Regions from separate parts of the Homo sapiens genome. Here region 1 is linked to region 2. Evidence: promoter capture Hi-C in 16 types of primary human blood cells and fetal thymus (Javierre and others, 2016). All regions are on one chromosome and are shown on one strand. The core of a region is centred on a gene start or on the middle of the fragment in contact, and the rest is flanking DNA. Distances in the headings are between cores, read along the strand shown.

What was found. Contacts are between HindIII fragments. The CHiCAGO score rates a contact against its expected background, and 5 or more counts as called.
Region 1: a contact is called between the fragment with the promoter of KLK2 here and the fragment with the promoter of SMIM47 in region 2, in 3 of 17 cell types (erythroblasts, M0 macrophages and activated CD4 T cells). The highest score is 5.3, in erythroblasts.

The regions. Positions count from the first base shown.
Region 1 is chr19:50,871,606-50,875,962 of GRCh38, reverse strand. KLK2 (kallikrein related peptidase 2) reads right to left here and starts at 2,524. Exons shown (of 5, transcript NM_005551.5): 1 at 2,444-2,524; 2 at 1,083-1,242. The coding sequence starts at 2,489. RefSeq lists a cis regulatory region at 2,686-2,700, an enhancer at 2,686-2,700 and promoters at 2,499-2,852, 2,499-3,124, 2,499-4,357. The HindIII fragment of the contact is 10,018 bases long and covers 1-4,357 here.
Region 2 is chr19:50,784,829-50,789,656 of GRCh38, reverse strand. It overlaps SMIM47 (small integral membrane protein 47), which reads left to right and starts at 3,497. Exons shown (of 3, transcript NM_001384597.1): 1 at 3,497-3,567; 2 at 3,656-3,715; 3 at 3,834-3,929. The coding sequence starts at 3,553. The coding sequence ends at 3,845. It overlaps LOC105372439 (a long non-coding RNA gene), which reads left to right. Exons shown (of 4, transcript XR_936026.3): 3 at 1-39; 4 at 1,215-2,276. The HindIII fragment of the contact is 13,889 bases long and covers 1-4,828 here.

The DNA of each region.
Region 1 (4,357 bases), core at 1,275-3,774, 87 kb before region 2:
GGAGAGGCATGAGGGTGGCTCACCTGCAGCTGGGGCTGGAGTGAGGGCTCTGTAGTGGCGGGTGGCCCGGCCCACAGCTCAGGGCCACGTCCCCCTTTCTCTCTCCAGCTCCCTTCCCCTCCTTTCGATTTTTTTTGTTGTTTGTTTGTTTGTTTGTTTTTTCTGAGATGGAGTCTTGCTCTGTCACCCAGGCTGGAGTGCAGTGGCACGATCTCGGCTCACTGCAACCTCTCCCTCCCGGGTTCAAGCGATTCTCCTGCCTCAGCCTCCCTAGTAATTGGGATTACAGGCGCGCAGCACCACGCCTGGCTACTTTTTGTATTTTTAGTAGAGACGGGGTTTTGCCATGTTGGCCAGGCTGGTTTCAAACTCCTGACCTCAGATGATCCACCCACCTCGGCCTCCCAAAGTGCTGGGATTACAGGCGTGGGCCACCGTGCCCGGCCACCTTCCCCTCCTTTCTTGTTTCCCCTTCTCCTTCCTCCCTCCTCAATTGTGCACCCAGCTACAGCTGAAACCAGCCCTCCCTGTGTCTCCCCAGGGTGGAGGGATGTCCTGCAGAGAGTGCTGTGCAATGACAGGCACCCCCTCACATGCACACACATTGAGCTTAAAGTCCTTCCTTTTTCTGGGTGCTCCCCACCCACCCTCACGGGGTGTGTTCAGTAGTGATGAGGAAGGGCTGAGGCAGAGACCCAGAGAGAAAGACAGGCAAAGAGATGCAGGGTGAGACACACGGTGACAGAGATGGCCACAGAGAGACCCAGAGACAGAGACGGGGGAGACACAGACACAGGGAGACAGAAAAGAGAGAGGGACATAGAGACCAAAACACAGTCATACAGACACAACCAGAGCCAGATACCAAGAGACACAGCGAGATCAGACACAGAGAGAAACCCAGGCAGCCATGGGGAGAGTGGTCCAGCCCCAGCTCTGCCTCCGGGTGCGACCTGGGCCAGGACCTTCCCTCTCTCCTTTAGTCTGAAGCCTCACCTGAGAAGTGACCCTGGGGGAAGCATCCCGCTGTTATTCCTGTGGGACACAGCCATTCCCTCCCCAGATCCCAGGGTCCTACTTACTTCTTTAGGCAATGGGCAGCTGTGAGCACCCACTGGGGGTGCACCAGGACACCCCCACAGTGTGCCCATCCATGACTGTACACAGCCACCTGCCAGGGTTGGGAATGCTTCTCACACTCCCAGCCTCCCACAATCCGAGACTGGATGAGGGGCACGGCACCTGCGGAGGGGGTGCTGGGTCAGGGGGATCAGACCCAAAAGAATTGGATAGGGGAGGGAGCTGAGCTGTGGGTTTGAAGAGACATGGGGGCAGAGGACCAGGACTGGGAGTCCAGGACACAAGCAAGGGGTCCTGGGAGGGCTGGCAATTCTGTAGCTATTCCCTGCGTTAGCGGGTTGGTGGCTGGACCAGGTCGGGAGGCTTCATGCTCTGAGAACGGAGCTGACCCCAGAGATCAGAGTAGGGGACATGGGAAACATCTGAAGCAGGCATCGGGTTGGGGGTTGGGTCATTTGGAGTGATTTGGGGTCTTACACTGGGAGAAGGGACACTGTGGTGGCAGCTGTGGGTTCTAAGAGAATAAGAGGTTCCAGAAACCAAGGATAAGTGCCCAGTGGAGAGGTTTAGTTGCTGGGAGAGGAAGGTTTTGGATGGTTTACCATGTCCAAGGTTAAGCAAACAGTTCTGCCTGAGTTGTTTCTTGCTTTGTTTTGTTTTGTTTTGTTTTTGAGGTTTTGAAAAGGGTGCGGATTTAGGGAATCAGAGAACTGGCCGTTGTGGTTGGGGGTGCTCGTGTTTTTCCCATGGAAAAAGCTAGCCATTGAATGACGGGTCTGGGGCAAAGAGTCAGGGAAGGAGGAGTTCTGAAAGTCCCAGTGCCAGACTCAGGGTGGGAGGCAGCATTTGTTGTCTCAGGCCAGATAGCCTCGGGGGGAAGAAGGAAGTGTCTGGTGGAATCTGGGTTTCCTGGGACAGGGTTGGGGAGCCAGGTGTCAAGGTCCAGGGGACAGGGTTGAATGCTCACAGCTGAATAGGAAAAGTCAGTAGACTGTGGTAGGACTGAGGGGCTCAGGAGGCAGCCCAGTGATAGGGTCCAAGGAACCAGTGGCATGGAGAGAGGTCCTTGAAAGGTTTTGAACCCCATAAAGAGAAACACAGAGATGCCCAGGAACTTGCTCTTTAGTAAAGCAGCTGGGAGCAGGGATTTGGCTGGGCAATGGAGAGAAAGGTCTGAGGTAAGTGGGAGGGAGCGGGGACCTAGTGTGGGCATGAGGACTATTGCAATGTGGAAGAGTCAGGGGCACATTGTCTGGGCTGAACTGTGGGCTGAAGGGACGAGGCTGGGGCACTGGGTGGGAGGAAAAGGGCTTCAGCATAAGAGTCAGAACCCGCCCCCCTTCCTTTATCCCCCCAATCTCACCAGTGCACCCCACAGACAAGGCGATGGAGAGAACCAGGTCCCACATGCTGACACAGGTGTCCACGGCCAGGTGGTGAGTTTGGGGCTGGGGGGCCTCCCTGAGGAGCCCTATAAAGCCTTCATTCTCCAGGACCCCGCCCTTGCCCTGTTGGCACCTAGATGCTGACCAAGGCCCTCCCCATGCTGCTGGAGGCTGGACAACCCCCTCCCACACCCAGAGCTGTGGAAGGGGAGGGAGAGCCAGCACTTGCTGTTCCACACATACTAGATCAGTCTGGAGGCATTCCCACGGTGTGAGGTCAGATTGGGCAGGGCCTATGGATCATGGAGATGTGATCTAGGGAACAAAGCCAGAGAAGGCAGGCTCAGGATGAACAGCAACAGGGGTTGGGATGATCACTGATTCTTTTTTAAAAAAATTCTGAGACAGTCTCACTCTGTTTCCCAGGCTGGAGTGCAGCGGCGTGATCGCAGCTCCCTGTAGCCTTGAACTCCCAGACTCAACCGATTCTCCTGTCTCAGCCTCCAGGATAGCTGAGACCACAAGCATGCACCACCACATCCAGCTAATTTTTAATTTTTTTGTAGAGAGAGGGTCTGGCTATGTTGCCTAGGCTGGTCTCCAACTCCTGGGCTCAAGCCATCCTCCCACTTCGGTCTCCCAAAGTGATGAGATTACAGGCGTGAGCCACCACGGCCAGCCCCAATCATTGATTTTCAATACAAAGTCTCATGTGCCTAAGTCCCAAGTACTTCCTTTGCACCCCAAACCTAATATGCCCTGAAATATCAGAATGATCGGATTGTGAGACTTCCTGGTCCCTATACCCGTCTGAGCCCAGAAGCTGGACCTCCAACTTACCATGTTCCTGAAATAGAAGCGTTGGCATTCAGTACTCTCTGATTCTTGCACTTCCACACTCAGAAAATGGTTCCCCACATACATTTCTCCCTCATCATAAAACCTTGTGATACCACATATTGTCCAATCCAGAAATATGACTCTCCCAGACCAAGTTCCCTATTATTTCAAAATCCAATGTCCACTAAACAATATGGGGTTCCGGTGGCTCCTCACTCCTCATTCTCCATGCCTGTACAACGTACAGGTACAGCGGGGATTCCTGTTGACCTGCCCTCCTAGGTCAGAATTGTCCTCATGCAAAATCCAATGCCTCCTTCTCACTGAAATGTCTAGCTATCAGGAGCCAGGTTTATACACTCCAAGATTAAGCTGCAAGCCAGGCACGGTGAGTGGCTCATGCCAGCAATCCCAGTGCTTTGGGAGTCCAAGGCTGAAGAATCACTTGAAGTCAGAAGTTCAAGATCAGCCAGGGCAACAAAGTGAGACCCTTTCTCTACAAAAAAAAAAAAAAAATTTAATTAGCCAGGTGTGGTGGCAAGCACCTGTAGCCCCATCTACTCAGGAGGCTGAAGCAGGAGGATCCCTTAAGTCCAGGAGGTCAAGGGTTCAGTGAGCTATGATCACACCACTGCGCTCCAGCCTGAGTGACAGAGCAAAAGACCCAGACTGTGTCTCAAAAAAAAAAAAAAAAAAAAAAAGAATTAGGGTGGCATTGAGAAATCTCATTTTGGTGTCTCAGAAAAGAATCAAGAATAAGAGTCCTGGTGTTAACTCTTATTATAAGAGTCCACTGTTAACTCTATAAGATTTCTTTGATTTTGAAAAAAAAAATGTGATTTCATCTGTTCAATAAAACCAGAGCAGCTTACGCTGATCCAGACCCAGCTGTGTCTCAAGAATTTGACAAAATCTTCCCCCATTTCCAGCTGAATGACCAGATCAATTCCAAGTACAGTGAAGGAGACAGAAGTGGACATAGATAATCACAATTCAAGACCAGGATAGAGGGATATTCACAGCCAGTGGCCTGATTTCCCCCACACAACCAC
Region 2 (4,828 bases), core at 2,248-4,747:
ATGTGGCCCCTGTGGCATGCCCCCTCCTCTGGGGAAGCTGTGAGTATAACAAGTCATCTTCCTTTCTTTCTTTTTTCTTTTCTTTCCTTTTTTTTTTTTTTTTTGAGATGTAGTCTTACTCTGTTTCCCAGGCTGGAGTGCAGTGACACAGTCTCAGCTTGCTGCAACCTCCACCTCCCAGGTTCAAGCGATCCTCCTGCCTCAGCCCCCCTAGTAGCTGGGATTACAGACACACGCGACCATGCCCGGCTAATTTTTGTATATATATATATATGGCCAGGCTGGTCTTCAACTCCTGACCTCAGGTGATCCACTCGCCTCGGCTTCCCAAAATGCTGGGATTACAGGCATGAGCCACCATGCCCAGCCAACAAGTCATCTTTCAATGGCAATCGTCTGCTGCTCAGGCGGCCTCACCATCCCACAATGCTAATAAAATCTACACTTCGCAGCACCACCTGGGGCTGGCTGGCTCTCCTGCCTCACTGCGCACAGTCAGCCTCCAGTCCTGTCCTAGGTTTTTGTTGTTTTTTGAGACAGGGTTTTGCTGTGTTGCCCAGACTGCTCTTAAACTCCTGGGCTCAAGCAATCCTCCCACCTTGGCCTCCCAAAGTGCTGGGATTACAGGTGTGAGCCCCTGCACCAGATACAAAAGTTTTGTGAATCTCTGTCTCTCCTCGTACTTGAAATAGGGTAGAGGCCCCTGGAATAAAGAAGTAGAAGGGCTGGAGGCTTAAGCCAGACCAGGAGCTGGCAGCTCACACCTGTAATCCCAGCACTTTGGGAGGCCAAGGTGGGAGGGTTGCTTGAGGCCAGGAGTTCAAGACCAGCCTGGCCAATATGGTGAGACCCACCCCCCGCACCCGACTCCATCTCTATAAAAGATAAACAAAAATTAGCCAGGCACGGTATGGTGGCATCTGCCTGTAGTCCCAGCTACTCAAGAGACTGAGATGGGAGGATCACGTGAGTCCAGGAATTTGAGGCTTCAGTGAGCTGTAATTGTGCCTTTGCACTACAGCCTGGACAACAAACCAAGAGCCTGTCTCTAAAAAAAACAGAAAAGAGAAAAAAATCCTGAAGCAAAATTAAGAAACTAGAAACCACGTTCTAGCCCCTGGAGATGTCAGCACTTTCCTATCTACTGATGTATTGGCTGCTGTGACAAGTTACCACTCAGTGGCTTAAAATGACACACATTTATTCCCTTACAGTTCTGGAGGTTGGAAGTCTAAAATCAATATAACTGGGCCAGGCATGGTGGCTGACACCTGTAATCCTGTCATTTTGGGAGGCCAAGGTGGGCAGATCACTTGAATCCAGGAGTTTGAGACCAGCTTGGGCAACATGGTGAAACCCCATCTCTACTAAAAATACCAAAAAACTGGCCAGGTGTAGTGGCATATGCCTGTAGTCCCAGCCACTCATCGCTTGAGCCTGAAGTCGAGGCTGCAGTGAGCCCTGATTCTGTCACTCCACTCCATCCTGGACGACAGAGTGAAACCTGATGTTTAAATGCAGTTTTTCATGTATGTACTTCTTACCAAAATGAGATCATACAGAACCTGCAATTTTGTAACCTGCGTCTTTCAGTTAACCTCCTCTTCTCCTTGGCAGTAGTGCTTTCGTCTTGTCTGATACCCATTCCCTATTCAAATGTCCCTCCGTTTCTCCCCAAAGAGACTTTGTCTTGTTTTGTTTTTTGAGACAGGATCTCACTCTGTCACACAGGCTGGTGTGCTGTGGTACGATCTCGGCTCACTGCAACCTCTGCCTCCTGGGTTCTGATGATTCTCGTGCCTGAGCCTCCTGAGTAGCTGGGACTATAGGTGCACACCACTGCACCTGGCTAATTTTTGTATTTTTAGTAGAGACAGGGTTTCACCATGTTGGCCAGGCTGGTCTCAAACTCCTGACCTCAGGTGATCCGCCCACCTCGGCCTCCACCCACAAAGAGCCTTTATAACTTGTTTTGTCCAAGCCAAAACCCGGTCCAGGATCACCCCTCAAAGCTGGTCTTGTGTCTCTTAACGGATTTTTTTCAAATATAGCAAGGCTACTTGCTTTTGTTTTGCACTGTGGCATGGATTTGTTGGAGAGACGGTGCCGTTTGCTCTGCAGAATGTGTTGCCTTCTGGAATGTTCTGGGTAGTGCCGTGAGGTACCGTGTTTACAATCAATTCTTGTTATTCATAGTAGCGATGTTGTATAACTGTGACCACTGAATCAGCAAATAAGGACCCATTGCTTCATTAATAAAAGTATATATTTTTCTATTTATTTTCTATTTATTTATTTATTTTTATTTATTATTATTATTTTGAGATGGAGTCTCGCTCTGTTGCCCAGGCTAGAGTGCAGTGGCACAATCTCGGCTCAATTTAACCTCCTCCGCCTGGGGTTCAAGTGTTGCTGGTGCCTCAGCCTCCCAAATAGCTGGGACTACAGGCGTGCACCACCATGCCCGGCTAATTTTTTTGTTTTTTTGTTTTTTAGTAGAGATGGAGTTTCGCCATGTTGGCCAGGCTGGTCTCAAACTCCTGACCTCAGGTGATCCTCCCGCCCCGGCCTCCCAAAGTGTTGGGAAAACAGGTGTGAGCCACCGGCACCTGGCCTATATTTATATATATTTAAAGAGATGGGGTCTTACAATGTTGCCCAGGCTGGCCTTGAACTCCTGGGCTCAAGCAATTCTACTGTCTCACTTAACCAAAGTGTTGGGATTACAAGCATGAGCCACTGCACCCAACCCTATATATATGTGTTTGTGTGTGTGTGTGTGTGTGTGTGTGTGTGTGTGTGTGTATACATATACACACACACACATATATTTCCCCAATAAGTGTTCACAGTTGTACAACATAACTACCAAAAATAGCGAGACTATATCTGCCACAAATAACGCAAATAGCTACCTGAGTAGCAGATTGTATAGTCCCCATTTTTGTGGTAGCGATAGATAGGTAAATAGGTATCTCACAAATGTATCATATGTATTTTATTTTATTTTTTCTTAGTTGTTAGTTGTGGAGACAGGATCTCACTCTTGCCCAGGCTGGAGTGCAGTGGCGTGATCTTGGCTCATGGCAGCCTCAACCCCCTGGGCTCAAGTGATCCTCCCATCTGGAGGAGGAAATTTTGCCTGGGCCTCCCTTACTGTTCTCCTGGCCTGCAGGCTCCTGTTTTGAGATATTTCTATACCCAGAACTGACCTGGTCCCTCCCCTGCTCTCAACCCTCTCATGGCTCCCCAGCACCCTCCGGGGCAAAACCCAAACACCTCAGTATGGTGTTCAGGGTTGAGACTCTCCAATCTCACACGTCCCGATGTCACATTCAGACACCACATGTGGCGGGCCACACCAGGGTCTGTATCTGCCCTATGCCCCTGCCTGTCCCCTCTACCAGAATGCCCTTTCCCCGTTGCCATGGCCACCATTCTGGTCTCTCCGACAACCCCCTCTCGGAGTTCCAGTGGCTTCTCCCCCCTCTGGCTCAGAGGCCCAGGAAAGAGAGAGAAGACCAACCAAGGGGTGGCTGGAGTCCCAAGGCCATGAACTTTCAGGAAGTGAGGAGGGGTCTGGCAGGGAAGGGAGGCCTGGGGCTGGGCAGAGGGCAGGGAGGGGAAGGGTCCTGACCTCTGATCTCCCCCCCAGAATGTGACCCTGGCCATGGCCTTGTTCACCATCCTGACCTCCATCTATTTCTTCAACAAGGTGAGCGGGAGAAGAGCGGAGGTGGGGGCTGAGTCTCTGTCTCCCTGGTCCAGTTCTGTCATCTTGGTCTCTCTTTCTCTCCCACATCTCTGTATATGTCCCTGTTTTCCTCTCTCAGGCTCAGCAGTGAGAAGACACAGGACCTCCCCGCACAAGAGCCCTGCCTCTCCCTCTGCCATCGCTCTGAGGCCAGATAAATGTAACTGAATCCGCACATCCTGCTCCGCCGACCCACTGCCCTTGCGCCCGGCCTCGGGCCTACACCACACCTGGGGCTCTGTGTTTCAGAAGGGAGTGGGGTGGGGGTCCGGACTCCAGGGTCTGAGGTAGGAGAGTGGTGAGGACCCACCCTCGCAGGTTTGAGGCTAGGAGCTGGGAATCTGCGCTGGGTTTTCAGGGATGAGTAGGAGTCTGTGGGGAAATTCCAAGAAGAGGAAGAACATTTCAACCTGGTGTAAGGGCACAGAGGGAAGAACAAGCAGGGCACATTGAGCACCCGGCACCAACACAGGCTGCTGTGTACTTCGGATTTGTTATTTCCCTTGATCCCGTGATTTCTTCTCCATCAGACAAAGGCGAAAATCTTTGTCCAATGGGCCCCAAAAAACCACAGCCAGGGCAGCCAGAGATCCAAAATGTGAATGCACTTTGTCAGCTGCAGTGGGTCTGTAGTTATCGTCATCATCTTCATCACTGTCATACTGTATCAACACATCTTCCTCTTTTTTCTTTTCTTTTTGAGATGAGATCTCACTCTATTGCCCAGGCTAGAGTGCAGTGGTATGATCATAGCTCACTGCAACCCTGAACTCCCAGGCTCAAGCAGTCCTCCTGCCTCAGCCTCCTGAGTAGCTGGGACTGTAGGTGTTCACCACCATGCCCAGCTAACTTTTTAATTTTTTTTAGAGACAGGGTCTCACTATGTCACCCAAGCTGGTCTCTAACTCCTGGCCTCAAGCAATCCTCCTACCTCAGCCTCCCAAAGTGTTGGAATTACAGGTGTGAGCCACTGTGCTCAGCCTCTTTTCTTAACAAACTCCTATTTAACCTTCAACACCCACCAGCAATGTCCCTTCCTATAAAAATGTGCAGACCCGCCCCCACAGGCAGTTC